Regions from separate parts of the Homo sapiens genome. Here regions 2, 3, 4, 5, 6 and 7 are each linked to region 1. Evidence: promoter capture Hi-C in 16 types of primary human blood cells and fetal thymus (Javierre and others, 2016). All regions are on one chromosome and are shown on one strand. Each heading gives the region's core, a stretch centred on a gene start or on the middle of the fragment in contact. The rest is flanking DNA. Distances are from core to core; before and after follow the strand shown. Region 1 holds the start of OR9K2 (olfactory receptor family 9 subfamily K member 2). Region 2 has its middle 9.6 kb from the start of OR10P1. Region 3 has its middle 7.6 kb from the start of LACRT. Region 4 overlaps DCD (dermcidin). Region 5 has its middle 21 kb from the start of DCD. Region 6 has its middle 6.7 kb from the start of OR2AP1. Region 7 has its middle 44 kb from the start of DCD.

Region 1 (3,044 bases), core at 338-2,837:
AGTTCTGCTTCTCTCACTTTCTAAATGGGATCTTGGACAAGTTACTTATGCTCTCTCTCTATGCTACTGTATTCTCATATATAAAGTGGAAATAAGAGTCCTCAAAGTTTTCTTGGGAATAGAAAATGACATACGTATGTAAATCACTTAGCACCATTTATGGTAAACTAAGTATTCAGTAAATGTTAGCCATTATTTTTATTATACGTTTCAGTGCTCAGTCCCACTATTCATACCAAATAGTGCTTATTAGGTTGAAAACCAATAATATATATGGTCGTTTTTGGACAAAACATTCTCAGTTGAGGGGAAGAATCAATCTGTTAAAAGTTTAGAGAGATGAAGAACTCTTGGAGAAATGGAATATTTTGCCTGAGAAAAAAGATTATTAAGAGAAAAGCTGAATAAGATGTTATCATTATTTAAGACTGTATTAAATGTTGAAAATAAAATATTCACCCATTTTATCAAAAATTAAATATGTAAGTAATTAAGAAGTAGTAAGAGCTTACATTAGATTGCACTTAGGGTCTGGAAAGATGTGAGACATTTAAGAAGTGAAAGAAAGCTGACTGAAGTCAGCATGAAAAATCATTTTTTGAAAAATAATATATATAATTTATCTTCATTTTATTCTCATCTAGAAGCAAAACAGATTATTTTAATTTCTAAGATTTATTTCTATCAAACTCATTTCAACATTAGAATTTAATATTATTATTAATAGTAATTATTCCTCACTTGACAATAATATCCTTAACATCAAACTCAGCTTGTTTGCTGCGTATTGTCAACATAATGTTCTGAATCTAGTGAATGACAATAATTCAATACATATTATTACGTAGAAAAAAGCTGAATGATAATGAGTATGTGGAATCAGAGAATATAAAAAAACAAACTTATTAAAATAAATTTATATCATAAATGTTATAAACATTGTAACATTATAAATGTTAATAAATGCATTGCTGATGACATTTTTTACCTGGAAAAGGGAGTTATTCCCGCAGAAGCCAACAACAAGTAGTCAGTTTGTGACTTATTTTTCAAAAACTTACAGGTTTTAAGTTACTTTTACCTTGTATTGTTTAGTAACTGGTCAGATTCTGGTAAAAATCAATCAGCAGAGTTCCAATGTTTTCCTCTGTTTATTGTTTTAATTCTAGAAAGGATAAACATAAAGTTAATTAATGACTGTCATAATTATAAATACTGAAAAATAATTACTTTGAAATAAAATGAATCATTCCCCACAAATCCACATTTATTATTACAGTTTTAGATTCTTCCCATAGATAAATGTGGCTTATGTGCCTCATTGCTCTATTTTAAAAAGTCTTTTTTTCAGTAGTTGATTTCCTGAAAAGTTTTATAGTCCTTTTTAGAAGAGAGTCAAGGTGAATTTTTCAAATCATGTTCTGCCAAAACTGAAGTGATTCCAGGAACAAAAATCTATAGATAAGCAAAGTGAACCTGAGGAATCAATCCACAAGATATTATCTATCCTGAATTCTCAGAAACTTGTATGCTTTCAAGGCAAGAGGATAGATTGCCATGGATATGCAAGTAGAGGTCCTGAGCTCTTTGGCATCTCTGAATACTGCCAAAATATCAACAGCAGTTATCCACGAGGGCTTCGGTTTTGCTACAGCTTTTTCATATAATTACAGTATTGAGATTTCCTCTATGTTCTGGGAGACAGTACCTCTGGGAGAGAAGAACACAAGTCAATTAATTAGTAAGACTTCTAGGATCTAAAAGCAAGATCCATGAAGACCTCAGAGATTCTATATTTTTTTAAAAAGCCTAAGAGTACTTAAAGTACATATGAGACATTCTTTAGGAAAAATCACAAGGATCTTTTAATTTTAATTTCTTCACTGAAAAAGCAGCATTTTCAATTTATCATTATAGCACAGTTTTTGATAAGCAAGTAGAAATAGATACGAAAGGAAATGTTGTGGTTCATAATGCCATTTGTAGGAAAATTTTGAGTCCTAATCATAAAGTTAATTTCATATTTACTTTCAGAATTCTATTCACCCAAATCTCTCCTTGATGACTTTTTAAACTATATTTTCTCAATAGTAATTGAGAAGAAAGATAGAACAGCACGACCATGATATGGGCAAAAATCCAACAAACGCCCTCTAATCCATCAAGTAAAGGCCACATGATTAACTGGATCTAAAGTTGGGTTTATATTGTAATTTTAATTGCTTTAAAGTTGTTTATTCAGGTGTCATGTATTAAGTTAGTAACTTCTCATCAGTCCCTGTATATAGTTCAAAATAATTTAAAGAACTGTTGGTTCCTTCCGGTGAGTGTTAAAGTTCTTAAAGGTGGTGTGTCCGGAGTTTGTTCCTTCAGATATTTAGATGTGTCCAGAGTTTCTTCCTTCTGGTGGGTTTGTGGTCTCACTGACTTCAAAAGTGAGTTACAGCTCTTAAAATCTCTTAAAGGTGGCATGTCTGGAGTTGTTCGTTCCTCCCGGTGGGTTTGTGGTCTCGCTGACTTGGAACCAACCCAAATGTCCAACAATGATAGACTGGATTAAGAAAATGTGGCACATATACACCATGGGATACTATGCAGTCATAAAAAAGGATGAGTTCATGTCCTTTGTTGGGACACGGATGAAGCTGGAAACCATCAGTCTCAGCAAACTATGGCAAGGACAGAAAACCAAACACCGCACGTTCTCACTCATAGGTGGGAATTGAACAACTACAACACTTGGACACAGGGTGGGGAACATCAGACACCGGGGCCTGTCCTGAGGTGGCGGGGGGGGACAGATAGCATTAGGAGATATACCTAATGTAAATGATGAGTTAATGGGTGTAGCACACCAACATGGCACATGTATACATATGTAACACACCTGCACGTTGCGCACATGTACCCTAGAACTTAAAGTCTAATAATAATTAAAAAACAAAAACAAAAAAAGAAAAGAAAAAAAACAAAAAGGAGTGAAGCTTCAGACCTTTGCAATGAGTGTTACAGCTCATAAAGGTGGCACCTCCAGAGCTGTTCTT
Region 2 (3,044 bases), core at 386-2,885, 500 kb before region 1:
TTAGTACCAGAAATTGTTGCAAGGGTGGGAATCTGGGAATGATCATTTGATCTCATTGGGTTTAAAGACAATGAGGATTCAGTACTATTGGAGGATGGAAGACTGGTAATCTTTGGTTTTCAGCCTTCCGATGTGAAACAGTTACAGAAATAACTACCTATCATCATCTGAAGTGCCGCTGAATGGTGATTCCTGAGCATGGTATGGGTACAAGGAGTTAAATGACAGTGAGTTTGGTTGCTGTTCATAACTGCTCTGGCAGCTTAAAGAAAGAAACTGTCAGGCTTAGGTCTTTTATATTTTCAGCTAAACACATAAAACTTGTAGCTTTGCCAGGGGCCCAGAGTAAGAGAAGGATATTGGCTGGTCCAGGCTGCAATACAGCTAATTCTGTTGCTGGCTTTTATGACTAAGGGAATCTGAAGGTGTGAGAAGTGCCATGGCTGAATTGGTGCTGTTTGGAGCCTGTGAAAAGCCCCATTCACAGAAGAGTTGTAGTGGAGGCCCCAAGGATTCAGAGAAAGTCCACGCCCTCTTCACCAAGTAACTATTATACTTTTGAGAAATATCTCCTTGTTTGTTATTTATGTATTTTTGAGACAGGGTCTCACTTTGTCATCCAGGCTGGAGTGCAGTGACACAATCAGGACTCATTGCAGCCTCGACCTCCTGGGCTCAAGCAATCCTTCTGTCTCAGCCCCCCTGAGTAGCTGGGACTACAGGTGTGCGCCAGCACGCCTGGCTAAGTTTTAAAACTTTTTTAGTAGCAATGAGGTTTCACTATGTTCCCCAGGCTGGTCTCAAATTCTTGAGCTCAAGTGATCCTCCTGCCTTGGCCTCCCAAAGTGCTGGGATTACAAGCACAAGCCACTGCTCTGAGCCATTGCTTGTTATTTGATCTCTGGCAGAGGATAAACACCTGACCCTGGGATACCAGGTGACTCTGCAACCTGAGCTGCCCTTTATGACCTGGGTGTTTCCCAATTGATAAAGCTGCATGGTCAGGCCCAGAAGCACCCCATCTTCAAGTGAAGGGGCATACATGAGATCAGACTTGAAGAAGTCCTGAAGTCACAAGGACATTCCACCAGTTCATGGTCCACACTCCCGTCATGTCTATTCTTGACACACTAATGTCCTTTCTTCCTATGGCCTCATGTAGTGTTCCTCATGACTGGTTGATGGAGGAGGAAAAATATTTGGGCCCAGCTTTACAGAGAACTTTGCACAACTCTGCTGGGACTAACTAGATATGGACATCTATGGCATTATAGCCCCAGTAATGGGGGTTGACCCTGAGGAAAAAAGGGGTGACCTGAGGAAGAGTGGAGAAGAAAAATGCCTGCTGAGCAGAATTTTGATAGTACAACTTAAAGAGTCTGCTTTTCCTGGAAGAAGGATGGCCTGAGATATGGATTTACATTGATCCATGAGCAGCAGCTAATGGTTTGTTTGGCAGGAGGTTTAGGAAGTAGAAGGAACAATACAGGAGAATGAGTGACAAGGCATTCTGGGGATCATCATCATCACCATCATCATCATCACTAACACTTCTGTAATGCTCACTCTGTGTCAGATATTGTTCTAAGCACTTTTTATATATTAACTTACTGAATCCTCCCAAAACACTGTGGGGTAGTTTCAACTATTATGCTGACTTTACTGAAGAGGAATCTGAGGCATAGCGTGGTTAGGCACTTGAACAAGACCATACAGCTAGTAAATGGCTGAGCTGGCATTTGAATCCAGGTGATCTGGCTGCAGAGTTCATGCTCTCAACCATCTTACTATTCTATGAATGAGCTTTTGAAAATGGGTCCAGACTGCGAGACTATTTGTGAATATGTGGGACAATGGTGAGACAATGTGGATGCTCACGAAAGGTCTCTCACTACAGAAGATACTGTTAATACTTAGGGATCAAGATGACCCAGCTGGTAGATGTCAGTCAGCCTTCTCCAGCATCTCCAGTGCTTATTCAAGGGATCACAATCAAAATGTCCATGGCGGAAGGGATGAAGGTTAGGCACAGGCTTACCGACAATGGTTCCCCTCACCAAGGCTGGTCTGGCTATGCCATGGCTGAGTGTGTAACTTGCCAGTAACAATAGCTTGGTGTAGTAGGCAGCCTCTAAGATAGTTCTCCATGAAACTCATCTTCTGATACTCATGCATTTGTGTAATTCTCTCCCTTTTAGTGTAGGTTGGAACCAGTGACCTGCTTTTAATGAAGGGAACATGGCAAAAGTGATGGGATATCTGACATTATGTTGCAAAAAGACTTGGCTTTCATCTTGGGTCCTGTCTGGTTCTCCTCTGCCTCTGTCTCTGTCTTTCTCTTCCCCCTTCTCACAAGTTGCCATATTGAGGACACTCGGCAGCCTGTGGAGAGACTCACATGAGGAAGAGCCAAAGCCTGCCAGCAACCATGTGAGTGAACCTGGAAATAGATCTGAGGCCTGCCAACAGGCACATGAATGAGTTTAGAAGTGGATTTTCCAACCTCAGTTGTCCCTTAAGTGACTGCACCCTCGGTGACAGCTTGACTCCATCCTCGTGAGAGACCCTGAGCGAGAGGCACCCAGCTCATTGCTCTCTCCTGGATTCTTGACCAACTCAAACTGTGAGATGATAATTGTCTGTGGTTTTAGGCAGGGAAGTTTTGTAGTAATTTGTTACATAGCAATGGGTAACTAATATGCCTGGGGATAGTTTGATTACATTGTACCCCTTGCCTGAAGGAGGCAATGCTCTGCACTCACTGGGATAATCACTTACTCTGGGCATGGATTTATCTTTCCTGTCTGCCTGCATCTGCAAGTGTCACCATCCACGGACTTACTGAATGCTGCATTTGTTGTCATGATATTTCACATAATATTGCATCTAATCAAGGAAAAAATATATAGCAAAACAAGTGAGACAATGTGCCAATGCTCACAGGACTCATTGGGATTACCCTGTAACTTCATTCCCCAGAACCACCTGGCCTTTTTTGAACAATAGAATGGCCAATTAAAAACTCAAATACAGCACCAGTTGGG
Region 3 (3,044 bases), core at 201-2,700, 500 kb after region 1:
GCTTTGCTCAGTGCAGCCCATGTGACTGCTCCTAGGTATTGGAGTCTGGTGCCTGAAGCTTTCCCAGGTGGGTGTTGCATACTGCCAGTGACTGCACACTTCTGGGTTCCCAGTAGTGGTCCCACTCCCACAGCTCTACTAGGCATTACCCTAATGGAGACTCTCTACGGTGGCACCACTTCCATGGCTCTGCTAGATGGGGACTCTTTGCAGTGGCTCTGCCCCTGTGACAAATCTTTGCCTGGGCTCCTAGGCTTTTGATGATATCCTTTGAAATCTTGGTGGAGGCTGCCAAGCTGCCACAGCTTTTGCTGTCTGCAAGCCTGCAGAGTCAGCACCACCTGGACACTGCCAAGGTTTATGGCTTCTACCTTCCAAAACTGCAGCACAAGCTACAATTGGGGTCACTTGAGCCTTGGCTAGGGCAGCCATGAAGCTCTGCACTGGGGTTTCAGGGCAGAGTCCCAAGGCACCATTCTGCCCTTCTAGACCTCTGGGCCTATAACAGGAGGGGCACCCTCAAAGATCTCTGAAATGCATTTCAGGTCTTTCTTCATCGTCTTGAGAAATAGCATCCGGCTCCCTTCTATCTGTGCTAATCTTTTTAGCTGCACCCTTGATCTCCTCTTCTGAATGTGCTTTTTCACTCTTCATGTGGCCAGGCTGACAGTTTTCCAACTCTTTCCACTCTGCTTCCAGTTTAATGTAAATTTTCTTTATCTTTATAATTGTCTTTGAATTATTCCTTTGCTCCCAAATCTCAGCATAAGTGGCCAAAAGTAACCATGCACCTCCTTCTATATTTTGCTTAGAAATTTCTTCTGCAGATACTCTAGTTCGTCACTCTCAAGTTTGGCCTTCCACAAAGCCCTTAAATGTAGACACAGTTCAGTCAAGTTCTCTGTCAATTTATAACAAGGATGGTCTTTACTCCAGTTTCCAATACCTTATTCCTCAGTTCCATCTGAAATCTCATCAGAATGGCCTTACTGTTCATATTTCAACTAGCATTCTGGTCACAATCACTTAACAAATCTCTAAGAAGTTCCAAACTTTCCAAAGAACTGAGGTGCTCCATGAGTTCTCCACCCCTGCAGCAAACTTCTGCCTGGACATCTAGGTGTTTTCATACATCCTCTGAAATCTAGGTGGAGGTTCCCAAACCCCAATTCTTGAATTCTGCGCACTCACAGGCTCAGCACCACATAAAAGCTGCCAAGGCTTGGGGCTTGCACCCTCTGGAGCCACAGCCCAAGCTCTATGTTGGCCCCTTTCAGCCATGGCTAGAGTAGCTCAAACACAAGACACCAAGTCTCTAGGCTGCACAGAGCACAGGTACCCTGGGCCTGGCCCATATAACCACTTTTTCCTCCTAGGCCTCCAGGCCTGTGATGGGAGGGGCTGCTGTGAAAACCTCTGACATGTCCTAGAGACATTTTCCCCATCATCTTGTGGATTAACATTCGGCTCCTCATTACTTGTGCAAATTTCTGCAGCCGGCTTGAATTTCTCTTCAGAAAATGGGATTTTATCTTCTATCACATTGTCAGGCTGCAAATTTTCTGAACATTTATGCTCTGCTTCCCTTATAAAACGGAATGCCTTTAACAGCACCCAAGTCACATCTTGAATGCTTTGCTGCCTAGAAACCTCTTCCACCAAAAACCCTAAATCATCTCTCTCAAGTTCAAAGTTCCACAAATCTCTAGGGCAGAAGCAAAATGCTGCCAGTCTCTTTGCTAACACATAACAAGAGTCACCTTTGCTCCAGTTCCCAAAACAAGTTCCTCATTTCCATCAGAGACCACCTCAGCCTGGACTTTATTGTCCATGTTGCTATCAGCATTTTGGGCAAAGCCATTCAACAAGTCTCTAGGAAGTTCCAGAATTTCCCACATTTCCCTGTCTTCTTCTGAGCCCTCCAAACTGTTCCAGCCTCTGCCTGCTACCCAGTTCCAAAGTTGCTTTCACATTTTCAGGTATCTTTTCAGCAACATCCCACTCTACTGTATTAATCAGTGCTAATACAGTACCAGTTTAGTGTATTAGTCAGTTTTCATGCTGCTGATAAAGACATAGTGGAGACTGGGCAATTTACGAAAGAAAGAGGTTTATTGGACTTAGAGTTCCACGTGGCTGTGGAGGCCTCACAATCATGGTGGAAGGTGAAAGGCACATCTCACATGGCAGCAGACAAGAGAAGAGAGCTTGTGCAGGGAAAATCCCCTTTATAAAACCATCAGATCTCATGAGACTTATTCACTATCACCAGAGCAGCACAGGAAAGGCCTGCCCCCATGATTCAATTACCTCCCACCAGGTCCCTCCCACAACACATGGGAATTCAAGATGAAATTTAGATGGGGACACAGCGAAGCCATATCAGCAGGGATTTCTGTCTGCTCTTTTACTTCTATATCCCCAGTGCCTAGAATAGTGCCTGGAACACAGAAAGCACCCAAGAAACATTGGTTCAATGTTGAATGAATTCACCCACTTCCACCCACCTCCTCATTTATATCCTGTGAGATGAATGTCTCCATCCTCTCTGTTCTTAGAATATGCATTTGCATGTCTGCTATAATACCTCTTCACCAGAGAGGCAACACTTCAGAAGCAGGTCCAGGCGGAATTCATCTCAGAATGCCTAACACTCGGCAGGAAACAGGTGGTTAACCAGTTGTCTGTGTACTGAACGAAGGAGAAGCAAGCTCTAGGATTACCTGCCTACAGCACCCCCAAAATTCCCCAGGTTCATCCTCCTCAAAGGAGAGACAACTTCAACCATTTCACATTCACAAATTGGTGACTTTGGACACACAGTGATTATGACAAAGCTTGATGAAGGAGCAAGAGCTAACCCCAGATACTGTTTCAGAGAAAACCCCAATCCTGATGAAATCCCTACCAACCCCAGAGACAATGGCAGCAATCCAAAGGGTCTATGAGAAACAAGGAGCAGATAGTTCCCCCTTGTGGCACAGGCCTGTGGACTATGTGACTTTATTGTGAGGACAGGGTGGACCCATGTTCAAACTACTCAA
Region 4 (3,044 bases), core at 203-2,702, 480 kb after region 1:
TTACACTGTCTGTCTTCCTCACAGCTGTATCTCTAGCCTCTAACACCATGTCTGGTGCATAATGCGTGCTTCATTCATGCTTTTGGAAGAATAAAGAAATGGAGGGAAGGTCCTTCTGAGGTCATTCTATCAGGTGACAATCAGAACAACTCCTGCCCTGTCACTAGAGCAGGTGCTGTGGTCATGCCCTCGTGGTCATGCCCCTTCAACTTTCATTATGAAACTTGGACATCTAAGACATAGAAGAGAGTCAGAGAATGATTCCATTTCCATAGGGATGTTCTGAGTAGCCTAGGTCTAGGGAGGATAACAGAGAGAGGGATTTGGTTGAGATACCAAAAAGCATTTCTAGTGGGCCCCTTGTGAAGCAGAGATTTCTCTCCTGTCTGTCCACTGCCACACTCCTGAGATTAGAGGCCTGGGAATTCTAGGCAGCCCTGGCTGGATACAGCTCATGCAACTGTGCCCTACTTGACATGGTCACTGTTCCCTCCTTTGCAGATGATCCAGAGGCCGCCTCTGCCCCAGGATCGGGGAACCGTGAGTCCTTTCTCTTCCTCCTGCCCCAGTCCTGGGTGGGAGGGTTAATGACTTGGGATATGAGTGGAGGAAGTCAGAGAAGCAGAAGGGGGGTCCGGGGAAGGAGAGTTGGGAGGCCGACTTTTAGGAGACATGGAGAAGGGAGACTTCCTGAGAGACTCATGCACTGGAGAAGGACAGAGCATGGGGGAAAGGGTGGCCCTGTCTGGAAGTAGAAGTGGAGTAAGAAAAATGGGAAAGAAAAGAATACTTTTCTTGAGCAAGAGGAGGAACTTCACATTAGATGGGTTCAGAGGTTTTCATCTGCCCCACCTTCACCAACAATTTCAATTCAAAAACCTTTCACGTGGTTTCCCATTTCTCATCACGAAACTCTCACCTCCTAGCCTGACATTCAGGGTATCCATGATCTAGATCCAGGGTACTTTTCAAATATAATTTCCCTAGACTCCACTGCTTGCATTCTCCACATCAAACGTTATACATTTGTTTCATCAGACAGCATGAGTAACTTTCTACTACCCAACGTTCCTCTTCCTGGGTACCTTTTCAACCCCTACCTGTCCGTGCTCTAACAAGCTTCAAGTCCCAGCTGCTCTCTGAAGCCCTCCCTGCCTGGTGTGTATGGTGCCTCTGTCCCAGTCTCTCCTTTCATCCCTCCCTCTTCTGGGCTTCCCATATATAGCAGTTTTGTCTCTTTTCCTAGACTGTAAGCCCCTGAGAGAGAGATCTAATTCTCATTCATTTCTACTTCCCCAGCCATGTACACACTCTGGATAATTAACGGCAGAAAGATAAACTGTATTTCTGCACATCTTCACTGCACTGCGAGCCCCAACCACAGCACACACCTGCACCCTCCCTGCCTTCTCACATAAAGCCCAGAGGGAACACCGGGCACCTTGGTGTCTTCTCAGATGCCCCTGGAGCGTTTCACACCAATGCAATAACAGAAGTTTTGATTTTCCAGATAAACAAATGGATTGTTTACAGCTACAGAAGCCCCCTTCAGAGACTGCCAAATTTCTGTCCTCATCCACCAACCTGCCTAGAAGAGAGAAGCTAGTGCCCTCTGCAAAACCTCCCCACACTAGGGGGCTGGTATAAGGGATGAAAACTAGGGGGAGTCTCTTTAAGGTGATCTTTCTGCCAAAATGACTTTACTTTTCCCTGAACCATAATCTACTCTAGAAAAGGGCCCTGGAGGAGCAGGAAAAGTCTTGGAGGCAGCAGGAAAAAGCTTGAGGGATGCTAAAGAACCTAACACATCATGAAAGTCAAGCTCTAGAGGAATTGGGAGAGAGGGAGCTATCCTCAAGCCAGACCTTGAGGGGGTAAAAGCACCACCTGCTCCCCGACCAGGGTGGAAAGAGTGAAATAGCTATTATTCCTCTCACTCCCTTACCCTTGCAGCTTGCCATGAAGCATCAGCAGCTCAAAAGGAAAATGCAGGTGAAGACCCAGGGTTAGCCAGACAGGCACCAAAGCCAAGGAAGCAGAGATCCAGCCTTCTGGGTAAGCCTCTTTCCCAATGCCTGGTATAGAATTCTGATGCATGAAACAGCAAGATATCTGGGGGCCAGTCTGCCCTCACAGGCACAAGCACAGGGACACAGCTACACCCATATTCCTAGGGAGGGCTTGGGGTGCACACCTGCTTCTACATACAGGGTTTCTGGGCCATAGGTTTTGCAGCTAATACTGGCCTACCAACCTTCCCATGACAGAGAAGTTGGTTCCTTCAGCAAAACCACTTCACCTTAGGGGTGCCCATGGTGCCTAGGAAGCGGGGGAGCTCTCCTACAAAGGAAGTAGTTTTTCTGCTTCTATGACCTCTTCTTTTCTGAATCCACCCTAGAAAAAGGCCTAGACGGAGCAAAAAAAGCTGTGGGGGGACTCGGAAAACTAGGAAAAGATGCAGTCGAAGATCTAGAAAGCGTGGGTAAAGGTGAGTATATGTCCCCACTCCTCCCTCAGGACCAGCCTCAGTCTCCACCCCTTGCATGAGATCTGAAACTGCCACAGCCCCCCCATTGAAGACCCCTCACTTTGTGCTTTCAAATGTCTCCAATTCCTCATCCAGATTTAAATTGCCATTCTTGTCTGATATTGATACTTCCTGGGGTCTAACTTGCTTTTTTTTTTATTGCTCTTGCCCCCTGCCCCTGCCAAGGTGGGGAAGAGAGGTTGGTCTTTGGGGCTCCTGTGAATCTAACCTCCATCCCTCTGACTTCTGTGTAAGCACCTCCAGGCCTCCCTTCCCCTTCCCCTTCCCCTACCTCTCCTTCCCCAATTCCCTGGCTCTCTTTCCCTTCCTTTTTTCTTCCTACCCCTTTACCCCATTTTTTTCTGTGGCTGTCCTAGGAGCCGTCCATGACGTTAAAGACGTCCTTGACTCAGTACTATAGCTGTAAGGAGAAGCTGAGAAATGATACCCAGGAGCAGCAGGCTTTACGTCTTCAGCCTAAAACCTAAAAAAAAAAAAAAAAAAAAAAATTTAAAAC
Region 5 (3,044 bases), core at 279-2,778, 460 kb after region 1:
ATCTTAACAAATGGCACAATTTAGGACTCTAAACCACACAAAATGTATTTCCCATGCAGTCCAATTAAGCTTCCTAAAGTTCTATACTATGCTTTAGGACCAAAGATTCAGACAAAGATTTTAATCAATCCAACAAAAAAACATATTTAATGCTTCTTATGCCGGACATGTTCCAGATGCTAGGAAATCAACACTGAACAAGACAATCTTGGTCTTGTTGGAGGAAACAAGAGTGAGAAAGGTCAGAAAAATAAATTTCTTAGTACATCTTAGAATAATAAGTTCTACAATAGTCTATTAGAGGGTGCAATGAAGCTATTAGAACTAAGCCTAATCAAAACTTTCAGGATAGAAGATTCCCAGAGAAAGTGATATAAAATGAAAAATTACTCAAATATGAGTATTGGAGGAGAAAGGGAAGATAATGTTTCAGAAAGAAGGATCAGCAGGTGCAAAATCCCAGAGATAAGTGCAAACAACGTGTGCTCAAGGAACTCAAAGAAAAATGCATAGCTAGGACATAAACTAAGAGGTGAAATGTGGAAGAGATGGTAGGAAGAGGCCAGATCATGAAAGACCTCAAAAGCCTTGTTTAACTGATATTTTTTAAAGGTCCAGGAGAAATTAAAGTGCAAGGAAGAGTAGCGATAATCAACAGAGCAATATTCCTGAGAAGGCAGGAGGAGACAGGAGTCAGATCTTAGATGAAGGGTTAAGTTTTAGGCAAGAGAAAGAAAAACTCTCACATAGTTACTGTAAAAAAGAAAGAAAAGGTGGACACAAGTACATGTAAGGTTACAAATATATTGGTAGGAAATAAAGGGAATTTGTACCAAAACACTTGTATTTTCTCTGTGAAGCTGATGAAGTCACTAGGTGTGTGTGAAGGATGTAGTGGGATCCTAGTTGAGGTTACAAACCAGAAGTTTATAATGTATAATCTTTATGGTTTTATATCCTTTTTTTCCTACAAGTGCTCAATAGCCCTGGAATAGGACAGAGAGAGTAGAGAGCTAGATTTATCAAGACTCAGAATTTGCCAAACTTTGTAAAAATGAGGTCAGGAAGTGACACAGATTGGCAAAAAACTTCTCTAAGTGGAAGACCATGTAATTTAACCTGGAAAGGAAAGAACGTGAAGACTGGAGTAGGCATACAGAAAAAGAGAAAATAAAATGGTCAGGGAACTGAAGTTTGAAAAATAAATATAGAAGAAGTATCAGAATGAAAGAGTTGGAAGGATAGGTGATATGTGGTGAGGATGTGGGTGTTTTCAGAATTGGAGTAACTCTAAGAAATGACCACGGCCACAGATTGACCATGGGAGTTGGGGTGAAAGTTATGATAAGGTCAATTTCTACTTTCACCCGAACTTCCATGGTTCCCTAGAACCCAGACTTCTGGGTAAGTCATGGTCATGATCCATGAAGTTGTCCAGCAGCTTAAAACAAAAAAGAAGACCACCACTCAGGAGTAAGTCTTCCATGAAGGAAAGGAGTCGCTGGGAGCCCAGCAGGTGAAACAATGAGGAGGGGTAGACAGATGACCCAAGACTCCTCCGAGGAGGAGGTATTAGTGATATGACTCAATGGACTCTGCAGTGGAGTCTAGGATGATCCACATGTCTGTGAATTCCACTGCCCAACCTAAGAAGCATGGCTGTGGGAATGAGTGGACTGCACTTCAGAAGAGACTCAGGGAGAACCATGTTTTCCTATTGGGATTGCATAATTTAATTTAGTTAATTTCTGCTTTTACATCTATTAATGCCCTCTTCTATTTTTCACATTGTTTGATTAGACATTTTCTAGTTTCTAAACTTGAATTTACTTTTGCTACATGTTCATTTCTCATAAAATACTAAACACCAGGGATCCTCTAAGAACAGTTGGCTGCAAAGTAAAGGTGCGCAGCGTTCACATATCCATTTCCAAAACAATCATCACTTAAGGCTCTGTTTTCTTTTTTTTATTATTATTATTATACTTTAAGTTTCAGGGTACATGTGCACAATGTGCAGGTTAGTTACGTATGTATACATGTGCCATGCTGGTGTGCTGCACCCATTAACTCGTCATTTAGCATTAGGTATATCTCCTAATGCTATCCCTTTCCCCTCCCCCCACCCCACAACTGTTTTCCTTTTAACCTAAGAAAGATTGTTGTTTTTCCCCAGGGACTCTTTTTTTAATTATTATGATTTGCCTTTCATTTTTAATTTCTAACTTGTATTATATGGTGGTAAGAAAAAGTGGCCTTTACAATTTCTTCTTTGGAGAATGGATTGAGGTATTCTTTGATACCTAGTATTTAATCGATTTTGTAAAACCACACAGGTATTGAAAAAATGTTTATTCTTTTCATTGGCTATAACATTCAAGCAAGTTTGTCAATTGTGTTATTCAAATGTTCTGTATACAAAATTATATTCTGTCCACATAAACTGTCACCTTCCGAGACTTAACAGATCGATGTCTCCTACAGAGAGTGTGGCTCTGTCAGGTAGTCCTCATAGTCATCACAGTTTTTGCTTTGTTTCAATGCAAGTGTGATGCATAAAAGTTTGTAACTATTACATCTTCTCAGTGAATTTTACCTTTTTTAAACCTATGCGATTTAAAACAGCACTTCATGTTCTCTTTAATTATTTTGGCCTTGCGTTCTATTTTGCCAGATAATGTTGCTATTCCATTTACCTAACATTTCTCTCTCCATCTCTTTATATTCAACATTTGTGTGTCACTTTATTTCTGGTGTGTCTATTATAAAAGAAATCTATGACTGCAGTTCACCTTCTAACCCTGCCATTTATTTATTCTTTTCTTGTTCTTTCTTTCCTTCTGAATCTTTGCTGGATTGATCAAGTTCTTTGTTGTTGTTGCTCTTTTCTACTCTGCCACGTTAAAAGATTTATAAATCAGTTAGAATTCAGTTCAGCTGCATGGAATAGAAACTCCAAAATAAGCAGCGTAAAGACATAAGCTTCTCCCCAGCCCCTAAGTAAAAGAAGACTAGAGAAAGGCAGCCTAGGACTCCTGGTAGGA
Region 6 (3,044 bases), core at 296-2,795, 450 kb before region 1:
GCCCAAAGAATAGCATTTCTTCAATTAATGTACAGACAGATATGTCTTATGCCTCACAAAACTTTGTACCTTCTGCACAGTGGGCTAGCCTCGATTCTTCTGTGTCATCTTGTTCTCAAATTGATTTTGTCATTTGATTCTCAAGTGTCCCTTCCCACTAGTGTTCACACAGACATTTTTGCCCAGCTTGAGGCTAACTTTACCTATAGCTGCTCAGAGTGATGCATTTATAGGCACTTGTTTCCAATCAGGTGAGATCTTCAGAGAAACCAAAACTAGTGGGATGGTTCAAGACTAAAACCATGGGATTGAGCTGGGAAGGGCTGTGGGTAAACAAAATTTGCCAGGGGCTGGAGGAAAGGAGAGATTGTCAGGTGAGATGGAGAGGTGGTGTAGATTAGGCACTTAGAATGCTTGAGTTTGAGATACCTATTACACATCCACCATTGAATTTAGTAATGTGGCAAGAGGTCCTTGACCATAAAGATTTTCAACTTTTAAGAGACTAGACCAAGCAGAATAAATAATTTCTGAAGTTGAAAACAGGTCTTTTGAAATAACACAGGCAGACTGAAAAACAAAAGAGAGAAGTGAACAAAGCCTATAGGATTTACAGGACACCATTAAGCAAACAAATATTCATATTCTGGGCATTTTAGGAGAAGAAAATAAGGGAAATGGTATAGAAAGCATATTTAATAAAATAATAGGTCAAAATTTTCCAATTCTTGAGAGAGGGCTGGACATCCAAATACGGGAATCTCAAAGAAACCCAAATAGATTCAACCCAAACATGTCCTATCCAAGACACATTTTAGTCAAATTGTCAGAAGCCAAAGACAAAGAAAAAATTTCTAAAAACACCAGGGAAAAACATTAAGTCATGTATAAGGGAATCCCCATTTCACTAACAGTAGATTTCTCAGCAGAAGCCTTACAGGCCAGGAGAGAATGGAATGATGTATTCAAAGTACTGAAAGAAAAAAAAACCCTGCTAGCCAACAATATTATGCCCAGCAAAGCCATCCTTCAGAAATGAAGGAGAAATAAAATATGTGACAAACAAGCAAAAATGAAGGGAATTAATAGTCACCATACTGGACTTACAAGAAATGTTCAAGGGAGTCATACATCTGGAAGAGAAAAGATGATAACCACCATGGTGAAAATATGCAAAACTATAAACTCACTGGTAGAGCCAATAGAGAAAGGAGAAACAAAGGAATCAAATCTTATTACTACAGAAACTACCCAACCACAAAAATAGACAATAAGATAGGAAGTAAGGAACAAGGGATATACAAAACAACCAGAAAACAATAAATAAGACCAAATCTACATCTCTAAGCCAAAAGAATAAAGCTGGAGGCATCACGCTACCTGACTTCAAACTATACTAAAAGGCTACAGTAACCAAAAGAGCATGGTACTGGTACCAAAACAGAGATATAGATCAATGGAACAGAACAGAGCCCTCAGAAATAATGCCACATATCTACAACTATCTGATCTTTGACAAACCTGGCAAAAACAAGAAATGGGGAAACGATTCCATATTAAATAAATGGTGCTGGGAAAACTGGCTAGCCATATGTAGAAAGCTGAAACTGGATCCCTTCCTTATACCTTATACAAAAATTAATTCAAGATGGATTAAAGACTTAAACATTAGACCTCAAACCATATAAACCCTAGAAGAAAACCTAGGCATTACCATTCAGGACATAGACATGGGCAAGGACTTCATGTCTAAAACACCAAAAGCAATGGCAACAAAAGCCAAAATTGACAAATGGGATCTAATTAAAGAGCTTCTGCACAGCAAAATAAACTACCATCAGAGTGAACAGGCAACCTACAAAATGGGAGAAAATTTTTGCAATCTACTCATCTGACAAAGGGCTAATATCCAGAATCTATAAATAACTCAAACAAATTTACAAGAAAAAATCAAACAACCCCATCAACAAGTGGGTGAAGGATATCAACACACACTTCTCAAAAGAAGACATTTATGCTGCCAAAAGACACATGAAAAAATGTTCGTCATCACAGGCCATCAAAGAAATGCAAATCAAAACCACAATGAGATACCATTTCACACCAGTTAGAATGGCAATCATTAAAAAGTCAGGAAACAACAGGTGCTGGAAAGGATGTGGAGAAATAGGAACAGTTTTACACTGTTGGTGGGACTGTAAAGTAGTTCAACCATTGTGGGAGTCAGTGTGGCGATTCCTCAGGGATCTAGAACTAGAAATACCATTTGAGCCAGCCATCCCATTACTGGGTATATACCCAAAAATTATAAATCATGCTGCTATAAAGACACATGCACACGTATGTTTATTGTGGCACTATTCACAATAGCAAAGACTTGGAACCAACCCAAATGTCCAACAATGATAGACTGGATTAAGAAAATGTGGCACATATACATCATGGAATACTGTGCAGCCATAAAAAATGATGAGTTCATGTCCTTTGTAGGGACATGGTTGAAGCTGGAAACCATCATTCTCAGTAAACTATCGCAAGGACAAAAAACCAAACACCACATGTTCTCACTCATAGGTGGGAATTGAACAATGAGAACACATGGACACATGAAGGGGAACATCACACACTGAGGCCTGTTGTGGGGTGGGGGGAGGGGGAAGGGATAGCATTAGGAGATATACCTAATGTTAAATGATGAGTTAATGGGTGCAGGACACCAACATGGCACATGTATACATATGTAACAAACCTGCACGTTGTGCACATGTATCCTAAAACTTAAAGTATAATAAAAAAAAGCTATGACAATTGCTTGAACCTTAAGTAATAAAGAAATTTTTCATTTGTACATTAGTTATTTTACTAATTGAACATTTATTGAGTACCTATTATGGGCAGGACACTATTATATGTAGTAGACCACCATTTGTACCCTCAAGTCTAGAAGCCAAGGCCATTTCCTTATAGCTCAGAAAGAAGATAAATAGGGAGGAGGTGAGCCCAGTTAGCAGCTTATATGAGTCTCCTTGTTCATTACTTAATCC
Region 7 (3,044 bases), core at 292-2,791, 430 kb after region 1:
TGAGGCTGTTTGTTTTTTCTTGTAAATTTGTTTAAGTTCCTTGTAGATTCTGGATATTAGAGCTTTGTCAGATGGATAGATTTTCTCTCATTCTGTAGGTTGCCTGTTCACTGTGATGATAGTTTCTTTTGCTGTGCAGAAGCTCTTTAGTTTAATTAGATCGCATTTGTCAATTTTGGCTTTTGTTGCAATTGCTTTTGGTGTTTTAGTCATGAAGTCTTTGACCAATTCTATGTCCTGAATGGTATTGCCTAGGTTTTCTTCTAGGGTATCTTTCTCTGTTTCTTCCTTAGCTAGTCATCCTGTTTAATCTTCTTCACACTTCTTTTTCATGATGCTAATTTTCCTCAAATATTTGCTAATTCTTTGCTTTAAATGAAGTACTAAGTTGAATATCATCAACACCAGGCATTGGCTCCTTCAGCATTTGTATAGGGGGACTGTCTCTCCCTGGAGCTGGCCAACTGCAGGCTCATGATAAATGGGATGAGGAGGTTGCCAACCAATTCCCTTGTGGTGTGTGAATGGGGAGCTAGCAGGCAATCTGGGAATGAATTTGCTATAAATGACTGGCTTTAGTATGGTTCTCTGTAACAGCCCGTTGTTTTTTGTTTTTTCTGAGACTACTTTGAAAACCCAGAATTACATCAGATCCTGCCCTGTCTCTTTCTGACCTCTCATACCAGCTGAGCCCTTCACATTCACCTGGAAGCAAACACTGAAACCAGCCACTCCTGAAAACAAGTGGAGAAGAGGACCCTCGTTTTTCCTGGGAGAGTTGCTTGCTTAATCCCCTTTACATTCACCCTGTGGCTAGCTCCTCCTCCATATACTTTTTGACTCCTGACTTAAAAGTTCCCAGGTTACTCTAGGAAGAGAGCTTTCATTTCTGCAGTAGCCCTCTCCACATCTCTTCTTGGTTACTCTACTCTAAATTCTCCATTGTCTTATCCCATTTTTTTTTTAAATTAAAGAAATAACAAATGATTATTTATTCCATACTTTTTTTTTCTTCTTTGAGACAGAGTCTTGCTCTGTCGCCCAGGCTGGAGTGCAATGGCACAGTTTCGGCTCACTGCAACCTCTGTCGCCTGGGTCCAAGTGATTCTCCTGCCTCAGCCTCCCTTGTAGCTGGTATTACAGGCGTGCACCACCAAAACCATCTAATTTTTGTATTTTTTAGTAGAGACATGGTTTCACCATGTTGGCCAGGCTGGTCAACTCTTGACCTCAAGTGAGCCGCCTGCCTTGGCCTCCCAGAGTTCTGGGCTTGCAGGTGTGAGCCACCATGTCTGGCCAATAAATCTTACTGAATGGATCCAAGCTGCCTGTTATGTTTTAGATACCAAAGAGGCAGCAATGAACAAGATACAAATCCCTGTCCTTACAAAGCTCTTTTCTTACACTAAATAGCACAGAGATAGAGAAAGGTCATGACCCCTTCCTGTCCCACATTCTCCAATCCCAGTTCCTGAGGTAATATGTGAATAGTTTTGTATATAGTCTTCCACACCTCTCTCTAAGATCCTATAAACAATATCTGTGCTGTTTTGTTTTGTTTCACATAAGGAATCTCACTGTGTGCTCTTACAACTCATTTTTTTAACTTAATGATTTGGTAGAAACATTCTTCCGGTTCCACTATACAGATCCAATTCACTCTCTTAACAGCTGGACAGTATTGAGATTGTACCACAATCTACGCAAGTAACCCCTTATAGACAGACACACATGTATTTTTTTCTATGTGGTTTTAGTTTTGGTTCTCATTTTTTTAGCTGAATGTATGTATGTATTTATCTGTTTGGTTTTTGCTGCTACAAGTCTGTGATAAACATCTTTGTCCATACATCCCTATGTATGTGTGCTTCTGTATACTCTATAGTATACAGTCCCATAATTGGGAACGTTAGGACAAATGATTTATATATTTTTATTTTAATAGATATTGTCAGATTATTTTCCAGAAAGATTGTGGCAAGCCATGTTCTCACTGACAGCCCATGAATTTCCCCATATACTTGGTACTGCTCAATCTTATCAATTTTCCAATTTTTCCTCATATGATAGCTGAAAAAAATTCCTTAATTGGTGTTTTAATTTTCACTTCCCTAATGATCAGAAAGATTTCCATATTTTTATTGGCAATATGTATTTTCTTTCAATAGATTTCCTCTTTATAATTATGGCTAGTTTGGTGATTGTTATTTTTCTCTTCTTGTCATTTTATAGACATTCCCTCCATAAGAAAAATAGTAGCCCTCTGAATATCATATGTATAGCTAAAAATATATATCCTACTCTATTTTATCTTTTAACATTTATAGTATCTTTTGACATGGACAACATTTAAATTTGTAGGTTCTCATAAATGTTTATTTTCTTTTTCAGTTTCTCTTCTCCCTTGCTTAAAAAGATCTTTTTGATTTACATGGATTTACATATTCTCCTGAATGTTCATCTAAGTTTAGAGATGGAGGGGTTAAAAATTGTTTAGGCCATCTGGAATATGTTTTATACATTAGGTAAAGTAAGGAACTGTTTTCTTCTAGTTGAAAGCTGATTATTCTTACATCTTTTATTAAGTGACAAATCAGCCACTGAATTCCAATTAGACTTAAGTCATGTAGATTCTCCACTCAGTCTTACTGAGTATGTCTCTCTCTATTCTTCTGTCAAAGCCATACTATAACTTCTATTCTGACTTAAACTCTGTTCTATTCTTGTGTCAAAGCCACACTACAACTTCCATAGGACAAGGACTTTGTTTTTTATATTCTCTTTGCTATCTCTCCAGTGCCCCAAAGATGCCTCAATGCCTAGAAAAGTGCCTTCCCCATTGTAGGTGCTCAAAAAGTCAATGAACCAATGAATGAATTATAGTAGTTTAAGAATGAGTTTTAATATCTGGAGTGCCAGTGCTCTCATTGTTCTTCTTTCCAAATGTACTAGCAGTTCCCACTCATTTCCTCAACATTGAAGAAGGAATATATTTTTACATTTCTAATTCTAACTGGGGTTTTTTCTGGGTTAGAAAAAAGCTA

The links. The method cuts DNA at HindIII sites, captures the fragments that hold promoters and counts their contacts. A CHiCAGO score of 5 or more calls a contact.
Region 2: a contact is called between a fragment that was not itself captured here and the fragment with the promoter of OR9K2 in region 1, in 8 of 17 cell types (naive B cells, M0 macrophages, M2 macrophages and 5 more). The highest score is 11.6, in naive B cells.
Region 3: a contact is called between a fragment that was not itself captured here and the fragment with the promoter of OR9K2 in region 1, in 1 of 17 cell types (non-activated CD4 T cells). The highest score is 5.2, in non-activated CD4 T cells.
Region 4: a fragment that was not itself captured here is called in contact with the fragment with the promoter of OR9K2 in region 1 in 1 of 17 cell types (naive CD8 T cells); the score reaches 5.4 in naive CD8 T cells.
Region 5: a contact is called between a fragment that was not itself captured here and the fragment with the promoter of OR9K2 in region 1, in 9 of 17 cell types (total CD4 T cells, activated CD4 T cells, M2 macrophages and 6 more). The highest score is 9.7, in total CD4 T cells.
Region 6: a fragment that was not itself captured here is called in contact with the fragment with the promoter of OR9K2 in region 1 in 1 of 17 cell types (M2 macrophages); the score reaches 6.6 in M2 macrophages.
Region 7: a contact is called between a fragment that was not itself captured here and the fragment with the promoter of OR9K2 in region 1, in 12 of 17 cell types (naive CD8 T cells, total CD8 T cells, non-activated CD4 T cells and 9 more). The highest score is 13.7, in naive CD8 T cells.

The regions. Positions count from the first base shown.
Region 1 is chr12:55,124,949-55,127,992 of GRCh38, reverse strand. It overlaps OR9K2 (olfactory receptor family 9 subfamily K member 2), which reads right to left and starts at 1,587. Exons shown (of 3, transcript NM_001005243.2): 1 at 1,477-1,587; 2 at 1,082-1,165. The HindIII fragment of the contact is 7,142 bases long and covers 1-2,986 here.
Region 2 is chr12:55,625,769-55,628,812 of GRCh38, reverse strand. No RefSeq gene overlaps it. Among named protein-coding and RNA genes, the nearest start is that of OR10P1, 9.6 kb to the left of the region's middle. The HindIII fragment of the contact is 3,558 bases long and covers 1-3,044 here.
Region 3 is chr12:54,625,811-54,628,854 of GRCh38, reverse strand. No RefSeq gene overlaps it. Among named protein-coding and RNA genes, the nearest start is that of LACRT, 7.6 kb to the left of the region's middle. The HindIII fragment of the contact is 2,779 bases long and covers 61-2,839 here.
Region 4 is chr12:54,644,617-54,647,660 of GRCh38, reverse strand. It overlaps DCD (dermcidin), which reads left to right. Exons shown (of 5, transcript NM_053283.4): 2 at 502-540; 3 at 1,954-2,055; 4 at 2,399-2,488; 5 at 2,905-3,044. The coding sequence ends at 2,948. Among named protein-coding and RNA genes, the nearest start is that of DCD, 2.2 kb to the left of the region's middle. The HindIII fragment of the contact is 661 bases long and covers 1,122-1,782 here.
Region 5 is chr12:54,668,329-54,671,372 of GRCh38, reverse strand. No RefSeq gene overlaps it. Among named protein-coding and RNA genes, the nearest start is that of DCD, 21 kb to the right of the region's middle. The HindIII fragment of the contact is 2,913 bases long and covers 72-2,984 here.
Region 6 is chr12:55,577,625-55,580,668 of GRCh38, reverse strand. It overlaps the pseudogene ATMINP2. Among named protein-coding and RNA genes, the nearest start is that of OR2AP1, 6.7 kb to the right of the region's middle. The HindIII fragment of the contact is 3,940 bases long and covers 1-3,044 here.
Region 7 is chr12:54,691,197-54,694,240 of GRCh38, reverse strand. No RefSeq gene overlaps it. Among named protein-coding and RNA genes, the nearest start is that of DCD, 44 kb to the right of the region's middle. The HindIII fragment of the contact is 9,388 bases long and covers 1-3,044 here.